Regions from separate parts of the Homo sapiens genome. Here regions 2, 3 and 4 are each linked to region 1. Evidence: promoter capture Hi-C in human tissues and cell types (Jung and others, 2019). All regions are on one chromosome and are shown on one strand. The core of a region is centred on a gene start or on the middle of the fragment in contact, and the rest is flanking DNA. Distances in the headings are between cores, read along the strand shown.

Region 1 (2,700 bases), core at 68-2,567:
ATCAGCACTCTGTGTCCAGCTCAGGGTTTGTGGATGCACCAATCGGCACTCTGTGTCTAGCTAATCTGGTGGGGACTTGGAGAATCTTTATGTATAGCTAAGGGATTGTGAATGCACCAATCGGCACTCTGTATCTAGCTCAAGGTTTGTAAATGCACCAATCAGCACTCTGTGTCTAGCTCAGGGTTTGTAAATATACCAATCAACACTCTGTGTCTAGCTAATCTAGTGGGGACTTGGAGAACTTTTGTGTCTAGCTCAGGGATTGTTAACGCACCAATCAGCACCCTGTCAAAACGGACCAATCAACTCTCTGTAAAACAGACCAATCGGCTCTCTGTAAAGTGGACCAATCAGCAGGATGTGGGTGGGGCCAGATAGGAGAATAAAAACAGGCTGCCCGAGCAAGCAGCGGCAACCCGTTGGGGTTGCCTTTCTGGACTGTGGGTGCTTTGTTCTTTGTAATAAATCTTGTTGCTTGCTAACCCTTTGGGTCCCTACTGTCTTTGTGAGCTATAACACTCGCCGTGAAGATCTGTATTTGCAGCTCTTTCTTGAGGCCCGTGTGACCACGAACCCACCGAGAGCGAAGGAACAACTCCAGGTGTGCCCTCTTAAGAGATTTAACACTCATTGCGAAGATCTGCAGCTTCACTCCTGAAGCTAGCGAGACCATGAACCCGCCAGAAGGAAGAAACTCCAGACACGCAGTCTTTAAGAATTGTAACACCGCGATGGTCCGCGGTTTCATTCTTGAAGTCAGTGAGACCAAGAATCCACCATTTCCGGACACAATATGATATCAGGTTGGAATTTGATATTTTAGTTCTACAAAGATTCTGTTGTGTCAGTCCCCGTTGGGCCTAAACTCCGCAAGGGATGGGATATAATATCAGTGCATGTCCAACCGCCCCGCTCCACTCCCGCTTCCTGTAATGGCCATAACTAGTTTTTAAGGTTTCCTTCGGCAGAGAGGGAGGTCCATTCAGTCGGGTGCGGGCCTTAGAATTTTTTTGCTTCACACACCCCAGTTTCGCAATGTCCAGCCCTTGACAACCAACAGAGCACCTGTAGGAGCCCTGTGAAGTTGGTAAAGGGTTGGGGTTGTAATAGCTGTCCAGCAGACGGGGAGACAGGGGTTCAGAGAAGGTGGGCAACCACCACAGCAGGACGCAGCTCCCTACCGCCAGGGCTGGGAGTAGAAGCCGCAGCCTCCGCTCCGGCTCGGCCCCACGAGCACCCTGCAGGTGAAAAACTACAATTTCCAGAATGCCATTCGGAGCGGAGTTACGAAGCGGAAGCGAGGCCGGGGGCGGGGGGGATCCGATGCGCGCCGCTGCCGCTGCGTGGGGGTGAGGGGATCAGGTACGCTGTCCGCTGGTTAAGGGGGCTGGCTGGGGGCTGCGGGGTCTGTCCTGGGACGTCCGCCTCCCTCGCGGGTGGGGCGGACGTTGAGAAAGCAGCGTTTAGCAGTCATGTGGCCTGTGGTACTCCACCTTCCTGATACTTTCCCTTCCTGCTTCCACTCGCACGCTCAGCCTGTGGGCCGGGAGAGACCCGCAGGCGGGGTGCTCTCAGGCTGAATTCGATGTGCCATCACTTAGCGGCAGTGTAGGTACCCATCAGGTGGGAGTTAGGCTAGCAAAGGTCTGAGGCCTCTGCCAACCTAGGGTGGGGGTGCGGAGTGGAGGATTTATGAACTCAGCAAGTATTTATTAAGCATCTATAAGCAAACAACACTTGCCTACATTGAAGGGATGGAGGAGGTTCCGACAACAAGTAAAATAGGTTATGTTGGATAGTAATATGAATGAGGAGAGGAAGGTAGTCTGTGAGTGTCTTAGGGAAGAGCATTGAGGGTAAAGAGAACGGCGAATGTAAAGGCCTTGAAGGGTATGTTTGAGGAACAGCAAATAGACCCCGGAGTGCAGAGGAAACGAGAAAGGTAGACCTTAGTGATCTGCATAGGTCATTGTATGGATTTGGGCTATTTACTGTCAGTGAAATGGAGAGTACTGCAGGGTTCTAAGCAGAAGAGTGGTGATCATCAAATACTTAGGATGCTCACAGGGCTCGGGTACTGAGGGTGTACAGGTGAATTCTTCCAATTCTTCCCTGGGTTTATAATCTAGTGGGGAAACAGGTAGACAGCTGTCATGCAAGGCAGGGTCAGATAATTGGAGCCCCATGAAAGCAGAACGAATGTCATCCCCAAGTCCCCAGGATGTACTATTATGTCAGGTGCTTAGTAGCTTTGTTGAACGAAAGTAATGAATATTCAGCATCGGACCCATAATTGGAGGCTCAGAAAAGATGTTTAATGAAGAAATGAAAAATAAATGAAATCTCACTTCTTGATACTGTTACAATGGCAATTAAGTTTCAACCTGAATGTGAGAAGGGGACAAACATTCAAACCAGAGCAGCACTCAAATTCATAAGATAGGAAATACAAAGGTGCTGCCAGGATTGGGGAAGGGAGAGTTATATAAAGGTCACAGGGTCGGGTGTGGTGGCTCACGCCTGTAATCCTAGCACTTTGGGAGGCCCAGACAGGTGGGTCGCGAGGTCAGGAGATCGAGACCATCCTGGCTAAAATGGTGAAACTCCGTCTCTACTAAAAATACAAAAAAATCTAGCCGGACATGGTGGCGGGTGCCTGTAGTCCCAGCTACTCAGGAAGCTGAGGCAGGAGAATGC
Region 2 (2,700 bases), core at 72-2,571, 140 kb before region 1:
CTGCCTGGTTTCAAATGCAGGCTCTACCACTTGCCCACTGGGATAAGTCTTACTGGCTCTGTGCCTGTTTCCTCACATGTAAAATGGAGAAATGATAGCACTCACTTTATAGAATTATTGTGAGGATTAAATATGCTAATGTAGGTACAGTGCTTAGAAAAGTATCTGGCACATAGTAAATGCTCAGTAAAATTAGCCATTATTATCTTTTGATTAAATTGAGTTCATGATCCCAATCCAATCTGACCACTTGACCGGATTCGGGAGACACTGTGTCCTCATTAATTCCCTAATTCTAAGCCATCCCTTGAGGTGGATTACTTTCTAAATGGGTCATCTTAACCATTTTTAAAGATCCCTACTGATGTAATTATCAAACCTCATCTGGAATTCTTGTGTCACACTCTGGGCGGTCCCTACAGTTTGCCCCTGTTGTACCTTCCTTCCTACTTTCCTAAAAAGGCCTGCCTAAAGTGACTCTGAGTTCACTGGACAGCTGCCCTTTCGTGGGTCCCAGCAGCCCTCTGGTCTTTAGAACTCCCCATGAGAGCCCATTCTTTGCATGCTTTGGAGCTCAGCAGCCTTCCTGAGTCTTCTCAGCTAGTGATGTTCGGATGACTGAGCTTGTAGGAAAGGGTGGGGCAGCCCCAGCTGACTCCAGAAAGGAAATGAGGTCTGTCCACACAGACAATCGCAGACCAATTAAAATGGTGCATGAGGCAATTAAGGACTGCAAATGAGGTGCCACTGCTCTGAGGTGCCACATAACTGCCAGATAATGATAGCCTTCGGCAGGGACAATACTGTGACTTGGAATTGAATGACTTTTATGACAGGATTAAAACAAAAAGGACAAGACATCTGCAAGACATAAATTCATACTTTCAAATTGAATCTTTAATACAGTTCAATCTCACAAATATTTATGAAACAGGGGGGAACAGTGCTGGCTGTTACAGGGGACAAATGAATAGGTGACACTCAGCCCCTGACCCAAGAGTGGCAGTTCTCCCTCTCCACTGCTACTTCTCATCAGCAACAACAGCCTCTTTTACCTGGAATACTACACTCATCCCGATTGGTCTCCTTGTCTCTTTTCTCATCCACAATCCATACAAAACAACTTTGGGCACATAAATTTCCCAGCCAAAAATGCTTCCCCAAAATGAGAAGCATTTTTGAGTGGGAAATAGCCTACATATTAAGTGTCAATACCTTACAAGTATTGAAAGCCCCCACAGATTGGTCCAAATTAACCTTTCCAGGTTTTTTTCTTCCAATCATACACCTCTCCCTGACCATATACCCTATATGCCAGCCTCATTGGTTTACTGCAGTTCCCTCAAACACACTGTCTCATTCTTTCCCCTTCTTCTTGCCTTCTCTGAATCTGTTACAAAGCATCATCTCTCTTTCGGTCTCTGACTAGAGAAATCTTGCTCACCTTTCAAAGCTCCTCTCAAATGCCACTTCTTCCCTAAAGCACTCCATGGCATTTGCCTCCTTTAGTGGGAGGAGGCAAATCTGTGTCCATGTCATCCTCTGTTGCACTTGGTTTATCCTTCTGTTGCGTAGCTTTCCTCCTGTGAGCTCCCTGCTGAGCCAGTCCTGGGATTGACTTTATCATTTTCCTCTCCCACAGCACAGCCTAGCACAGGATTTATGTGGAGTGAATTATACTGAATGGAATGGAGGAGATAAACCCAGCCCCAAGTGACTAATGTAAACCGACATGCCATAAGGTTCTATGACAGAGCTCTAAAGTGGAACAGAATTCAGGTTGGAGTGCGGATGAAATTTTTTCCAAACAGGGAAAACTTGGGAACGTTTCCATTTTTTTTCCATGTAAACCTTTCCTGACATCTCTGTGACATGCATCCCACCTGTAACTGTCCCCCTTTGTGATATTCACAACCCGGGCCTATAACTGGAAAATACTTGAGGTCAGAGATCTTTGTTATTTCCTTATACTTACTTCAGGGCTTGGCACATAGCAAGGGCTCAACAAATGTTTGTGGGAGAAGGGTAAAGAGGGTAGGAGGAAGAAAAGAGAGTTGTATTAATATAGAAATGGAGTAGGGCAAAAGCTGCAGAGAAATTGAATCAAGGCCAGTGCAGTGGCTCATGCCTGAAATCCCAGCACTTTGGGAGGCCAAGGTGGGTGGATCACCTGAGGTCAGGAGTTTGAGACCCGCCTGGCCAACATAGCAAAACCCCATCTCTACTAAAAGTACAAAAATTAGACAGGTGTGGTTGTGGGTGCCTATAATCCCAGCTACTTGGGAGGCTGAGGCAGGAGAATCAGTTGAACCCAGGAATTGGAGGTTGTGGTGAGCCGAGATTGTGCCACTGCACTCCAGCCTGGGCGACACAGCGAGACTCCAGCTCAGAAAAAAAAAAAAAAGAAATTGAATCGAAAAAGGTTTAGTCACATATTATGTGGGGACCCTGCCGTATAGTCTTGGTGGATTAGCTTGATATAGTGAAGGTGCTTACTAGCTACATACTGCTTTTTGTAGGTGCCAATTGACACTGAGTAGACAGGGGAAAAAAAAAAAAAAACCTGTATTCCCAGATTCATTTGTTTCTATCCTCCCCCACATCCTGGAGTTGGTGCTGTGATATATTCCCCAGTAGGAGATTACTGGGAGGCAGTTGGCAGCTGCATTCCATCCTTACCCTGTAACAGAGGGTCACCGT
Region 3 (2,700 bases), core at 100-2,599, 170 kb before region 1:
AAAATTGGCTGGGTGTGGTGGCGCGTGCCTGTAATTCCAGCTATCAGGAGGCTGAGGCAGGAGAATCGCTTGAACCTGGGAGGTGGTGGTTGCAGTGAGCAGAGATCGTGCGCCACTGCACTCCAGCCTGAGTGGCAGAGTGAGACTGTGTCTCAAAAAAAAAAAAAAAAAAGCAGTTCACTTGTAATCCCAGCTACTCAGGAGGCTGAGGCAGGAGGATCGCTTGAACCCAGGAGTTTGAGACCAACCTGGGCAACGAAGCAAGACCCTGTCTCTAAAAAAGAAAAGGAGTTGGATACAGACCTCCGGAATTTACGAGAGAATATCAGCTATAGAAACATAATTTACCAAGAATACTATGAAAAAGAAATTATTACACGAAATTGTGGCCTGAAATAATTGACCCCGTGGTCCTACTGACCTTTTTCAGTCCCTGGTTCTATAGAATATATTCCATAAAAATGTATTCCATCTATTATTACCATATGGTGAATGTGGTATGATTCTGGGTGAGGTCTAAGTTACCATGTAGCTGGTCTCTTTTATAAATAAGAAAACCAAACACTAAAACCTAAAGCCAACAATTTATTTTAAGACACAAAGTTGTACAGTAGCTAGGTATAGTAGAAAGACCACAGGGGTAGTCTCACACTGCAATGAGCCTGATGATTTACCTTGCTGACTGACAAAGCTATGCCATATTTAATCCTTTGAAAAGTATCTTACTCCATGAAACTGGCAGTCCAGATATGACTGTCAATAAACAATCAAAAGCTTGAGTTTCTGGATTTGTGCCAGCTAACATTATCATTTTGGTATTTGTATAAAACAGCTGACTTTCAAAGTGCTACAGCAGTGTCCTACAAGAGCAAGCTGTCTTCCCTATTAGTGGGGCAAGCATCACGTGCCACATGGGAATTTTTGTTTGTTTTGAGATGGGGTTTTGCTCTTGTCGCCCAGACTGGAGTGCAATGGCATGATCTTGGCTCACCGCAACCCCCACCTCCCAGGTTCAAGCGATTGTCCTGCTTCAGCCTCCCCCGTAGCTGGTATTAACAGGTACCAGCCACTAGGCCCAGCTAATTTTTGTATTTTAGTAGAGACGGGGTTTCACCATGTTGGCCAGGCTGGTCTCAAACTCCCGACCTCAGGTGATTCGCCCGCCTCAGCCTCCCAAAGCTCTGGGATTACAGGCATGAGCCACCACACCTGGCCAGGGGTTTTTTTTTTTTTTTTTTTTTTTTGAAACAGAGTCTCGCTCTGTTGCCCAGGCTGGAGTGCAGTGGCTCAGTCTCAGCTCACTGCAACCTCCACCTCCTGGGTTCAAGCGATTCTTCTGTCTCAGCCTCCCAAGTAGCTGGGACTACAGGCTTTCGCATTTTCAGTAGAGACAGGGTTTCACCATATTGATTAGTCTGGTCTCAAACTCCTGACCTCAGGTAATCCACCTGCCTCGGCCTCCCAAAGTGGTGGGATTACAGGTGTAAGCCAATGCGCCCAGCCAAAAATATAACTACTTAAATATAAGAACATCATTCACAAACTACAGTTGAGCCCTCTCTTCTTTCTGCCCTCATCTCACCTCTGCATGCCTCTATCCTACCATTAGACTCGAGAGGAAACTTACTCATCTTTATACACTGGCACCTGGCTGGTGTTTACTGGCAAATGTATAAGTGAACACACAAAATCTCCTCAGCCATGGGAGCTTTATTTACTTTGCTTTCCAGAAAAAGTAGGCTCACACAGAGTGGTGTCCCAGGTCAACATAGTGGACATGCCATGCTTTTTGGCTGCCCAGCATCTGAGGTCCCTTCCTACATTTGGGAATTCCTTGTTTATGAGTTTGCTGGGAAGCAGAACATGCCTTTCACTATAGAAGTGGAAATTCCAGGTATTTTCTCTGCTTCTCCTTGTGATTCTATCATGCTACAAATTACTCTTGATTTTGAATTAAGTACCAGAGACACAATAAAGTCTCTGGAATAATTTTCTCTGGGACCATGGCAAGTGCGGCAAGTTCTTAGAGCAACACTGGCTGCCATGATCCAGGGTTCTGTGCATGTGGCTTTGGCAAAGTAAGTGGTGGCACCTAATGTTCAGCAGAAATGGCGTCCTCACTGCCCCAGCTCTGTGGAGTATGACCAAGGAACAAAGGGTGATGTTCCAGTTGCCTACTCTCCAAGCCTAATTCTCTAGGCCTCCTGGTGATACTGAACTCCCTGTTATCCTTTTAATAAAATACTTTTCTTTTTCTGTCAAAATTGGATTTTGGTGTTTGCAACTAAAAAATCTGACTCACATAGTCACATGATAAATAGCAGAGCTGAAACTATAATCTAGGACATTGAAATCCTAATTCTAGTATTCTTTCCATGTAGACAGATCTCTACTTTCCAACAACCCACAATTTTTACATTACATATCGCTGTCCCTAAATCATTTTGTTCACCGAATTTATACTTGAATATGTAAGCTGATTAGTGAACATTTCAAGTGACTGTATTTCAAATGCAGTATTATCTTTGTACATCTGTTTATGTAATAGTTTCTTTCTTTTTTGCATTTTTGGCCTCTATATACTTAAGTGGAAATGAAAATACCCCGCACTTGAACAAACGTGGGAGTTAGGGGCCCCGACACCTGCACAGTCACAAATCTGCATGTAACTTTGACTCCCCAAAAACTTAACTACTAATA
Region 4 (2,700 bases), core at 106-2,605, 190 kb before region 1:
CATATACTCTTCTTTCAGGGAGCACCATATACTGCGCACTTTCTGAGATGCTTTATCCATGATGTTCTTTCCTTCTACAAGGGGCAACTCTGACAGGTGTTCAAGAGTGAATCAGCTAACACTAAAGGAACCTAATCTATACCACCTTCCAGGTGAGAGGCTTCCATATGGTCTTTTGCAGGACTTTCCATTAGGGTTCTCCTGGGATCTATTGCTAATGGTTGGTATTCCAAGTCTCAGGAGGGACTTGGAATAAGAGAGACCCAAATTGCAACCACCAACCCTCATAAATGCATCTCTGCTTCTCAACTCGAGCCTAGTTTACTTTACTATATAAGTGTTCAACCCAGTCAATGCATTGTGTGCCCCATGTGACATCCCATAGTATCCAGCACTGACAATTTCTCTCCCAGATGGGTTTCCCCCATTTCCCATAGTAGCTCATCAATAATGAATACCCTAGGCTATCATAATTCACTTACAGAGAATACAGCAAGAACCCCACATACCATCCAATATGCAGCACAAAGTACAGGCTTAATAACAGTGTTTTTAAGTAAACGAATAATCAGAAATGAGCCCCCATCATGCCCCCACCTCAAATTTTAGGTGAATAATTAATGTATCACCCATTAGGTGATAGCAACCATTTGCTGTCATAGCTAATAACAATGTGAGATAGAAGGAATTAAGCACTACTGCAGCTTATAGAGATCAAGAAGAAAGAAAATCTTTTTTTTTTTTTTGAGATGGAGTTTCGCTCTTGTTGCCCAGGCTGGAGTGCAATGGTGTGACCTCAGCTCACCGCAACCTCCACCTCCCAGGTTTAACTGATTCTCCTGCCTCAGCCTCCCGAGTAGCTGCGATTACAGACGCGCACCACCACGCCCGGCTAATTTTTTGTATTTTTAGTAGAGACGAGGTTTCACCATGGTCAGGTTTGTTTTGAACTCCTGACCTCAGGTGATCCGCCCGCCTCGGCCTCCCAGAGTGCTGGGATTACAGGCATGAGCCACCGCGCCTGGCCGAAAAAAGAAAATCTTTAAGCCAGACTTAGTAGGACCTCCCATAGCAGTGATTCTTTAATCGTGGCTCTTCAGTCATCACCTGAGAATCACCTGGGGCCTATTCCTAGCTTCATCTCAGACCTCCAGAATCAGAATCTCTGGAGTGGAACCAATTATGTGCATTTTTAACAAGCTCCCTGGTGATTGTGATAAAGGGCCCCACCCACACTTTGATGCAGCATCCTTCTTCCTCAGCTTCAACCCTTTCAGTGAAGCAGCTGTCTCTGTATCATGCAAAGACCAATCATTTCAAAGCCAAAAGACCTGGGGTCAAGTTGCAGGTGACCTTGAACAAGTCACTTAACCTCTCTGGGCCTCAGGTTCCTCATATATAAATTGGGGACCTTGATAGCACCCAAAGGCTTGCTGTGATGATTAAAAAATTGAAAGCACATTACATTGGGAATCAATGCTCTTCATCAACTGCTTCCAGTTTTCTTTCCTTCTGGGCACATGACAAGATTGTACATCTGATCCCTCCTGAGGTCAAATGGGGCCACAAGACTAGTACTAACCAATGGGTTTTGAGTAGAAGAGATGTGCGTTACTTCTCGACTAGAGCACTTCATTGCCTATGCAGGATCATCCACAGCTTGCTTTTCTCTGTGGCACAGCAACTGGCAACATTTGAGATGACGGTTACTCTAGGAACCTGGATCCTTAAATGATTAGAGTAAGCAGAGATCCCGACCAAGCCAAGATGGACAAACACCATGCATGAAAAATACACCTTTGTTTGGGTTAAGGCACTAAGAACTTGCAGATTGTTTGTTACCATAGCAGAGGCTGAAAGAGCATATGAAACTCTAAAGGGCATTATTATAAAGCCCTCGGACACCTTGAGATTGACTTCACTACTCTTCCCCAGGTGGTGTCAGTTCTGACCCCTTGGAGCCACTGGTGCTCGACCCTCTTTCACAAGTTGCATGATGGGAAAGGCCCTGAATGCCAGACTAAGAAGCTTGTACTGTCTATTATAGATTCCTCAGAAGGGAAGTGGCCTGATCAGAGCTATATTTTAAGGAGATCCATCCAGGAGAGGTATTTAGGTGGAACAGTGAGGGCAGGAACTCACAATTTTGCAAATATTAATTGTAATTTCTTTCCCTTAGGATGATGTGAGGGTGTCTGGGGGATTTGGGGCCAAGCCACCTGACGTAGAAACTACTGGAGCTTCGGTTTCTTGGGGTTCCAAGAAGCCCACCTATAGTAGGAAGCACATGGTTTAGTCACTGGCCTCTCAGGGGAAGGGGGATTTCCTAGCAGGTTACTGTCAACCCTTCAGCATTTGTTTTCCCCCAAACTTGCCTGTGTACCCAACTCCAGGGCTCTGTATCTAGAATGAAGCCAACAATTGCCCCCTCTTGACTCCGAGCACACATGCACATTTCCTATCATTCCATTTGGCTTTATTTACTATATCTTTACACTAATCCATGGAGATTCATGAAACAACAGGGACTTCTTAGAACAAGGTAACACTTTTTATTTTATTTTTTTTAATGCATTCAAGTTTTGCCTTTCCGTTTTACCACTGGGGCCTCTGCATGTGGAATTAAAAGTAACAAATGTCCCCAGAGCCTGTGCACCTGGAGTGTGATGCCTGTAAAGAACTGGAAAAACAATGATGGAA

The links. Contacts are between HindIII fragments. The study calls those that stand out against the background at their distance.
Region 2: a fragment that was not itself captured here is called in contact with the fragment with the promoter of TRMT10B in region 1 in 1 of the 25 tissues and cell types used here (IMR-90 fibroblasts).
Region 3: a fragment that was not itself captured here is called in contact with the fragment with the promoter of TRMT10B in region 1 in 1 of the 25 tissues and cell types used here (dorsolateral prefrontal cortex).
Region 4: a contact is called between a fragment that was not itself captured here and the fragment with the promoter of TRMT10B in region 1, in 1 of the 25 tissues and cell types used here (dorsolateral prefrontal cortex).

Annotation. Positions count from the first base shown.
Region 1 is chr9:37,752,488-37,755,187 of GRCh38, forward strand. It overlaps TRMT10B (tRNA methyltransferase 10B), which reads left to right and starts at 1,318. Exons shown (of 9, transcript NM_144964.4): 1 at 1,318-1,365. RefSeq lists a silencer at 1,228-1,462. The HindIII fragment of the contact is 14,807 bases long and covers 1-2,700 here.
Region 2 is chr9:37,617,370-37,620,069 of GRCh38, forward strand. It overlaps a transcript of FRMPD1 not described here. Among named protein-coding and RNA genes, the nearest start is that of TOMM5, 26 kb to the left of the region's middle. The HindIII fragment of the contact is 7,750 bases long and covers 1-2,700 here.
Region 3 is chr9:37,578,664-37,581,363 of GRCh38, forward strand. No RefSeq gene overlaps it. Among named protein-coding and RNA genes, the nearest start is that of FBXO10, 3.6 kb to the left of the region's middle. The HindIII fragment of the contact is 3,211 bases long and covers 1-2,700 here.
Region 4 is chr9:37,558,082-37,560,781 of GRCh38, forward strand. The region is part of intron 1 of FBXO10 (F-box protein 10); the gene reads right to left. Among named protein-coding and RNA genes, the nearest start is that of FBXO10, 17 kb to the right of the region's middle. The HindIII fragment of the contact is 7,023 bases long and covers 1-2,700 here.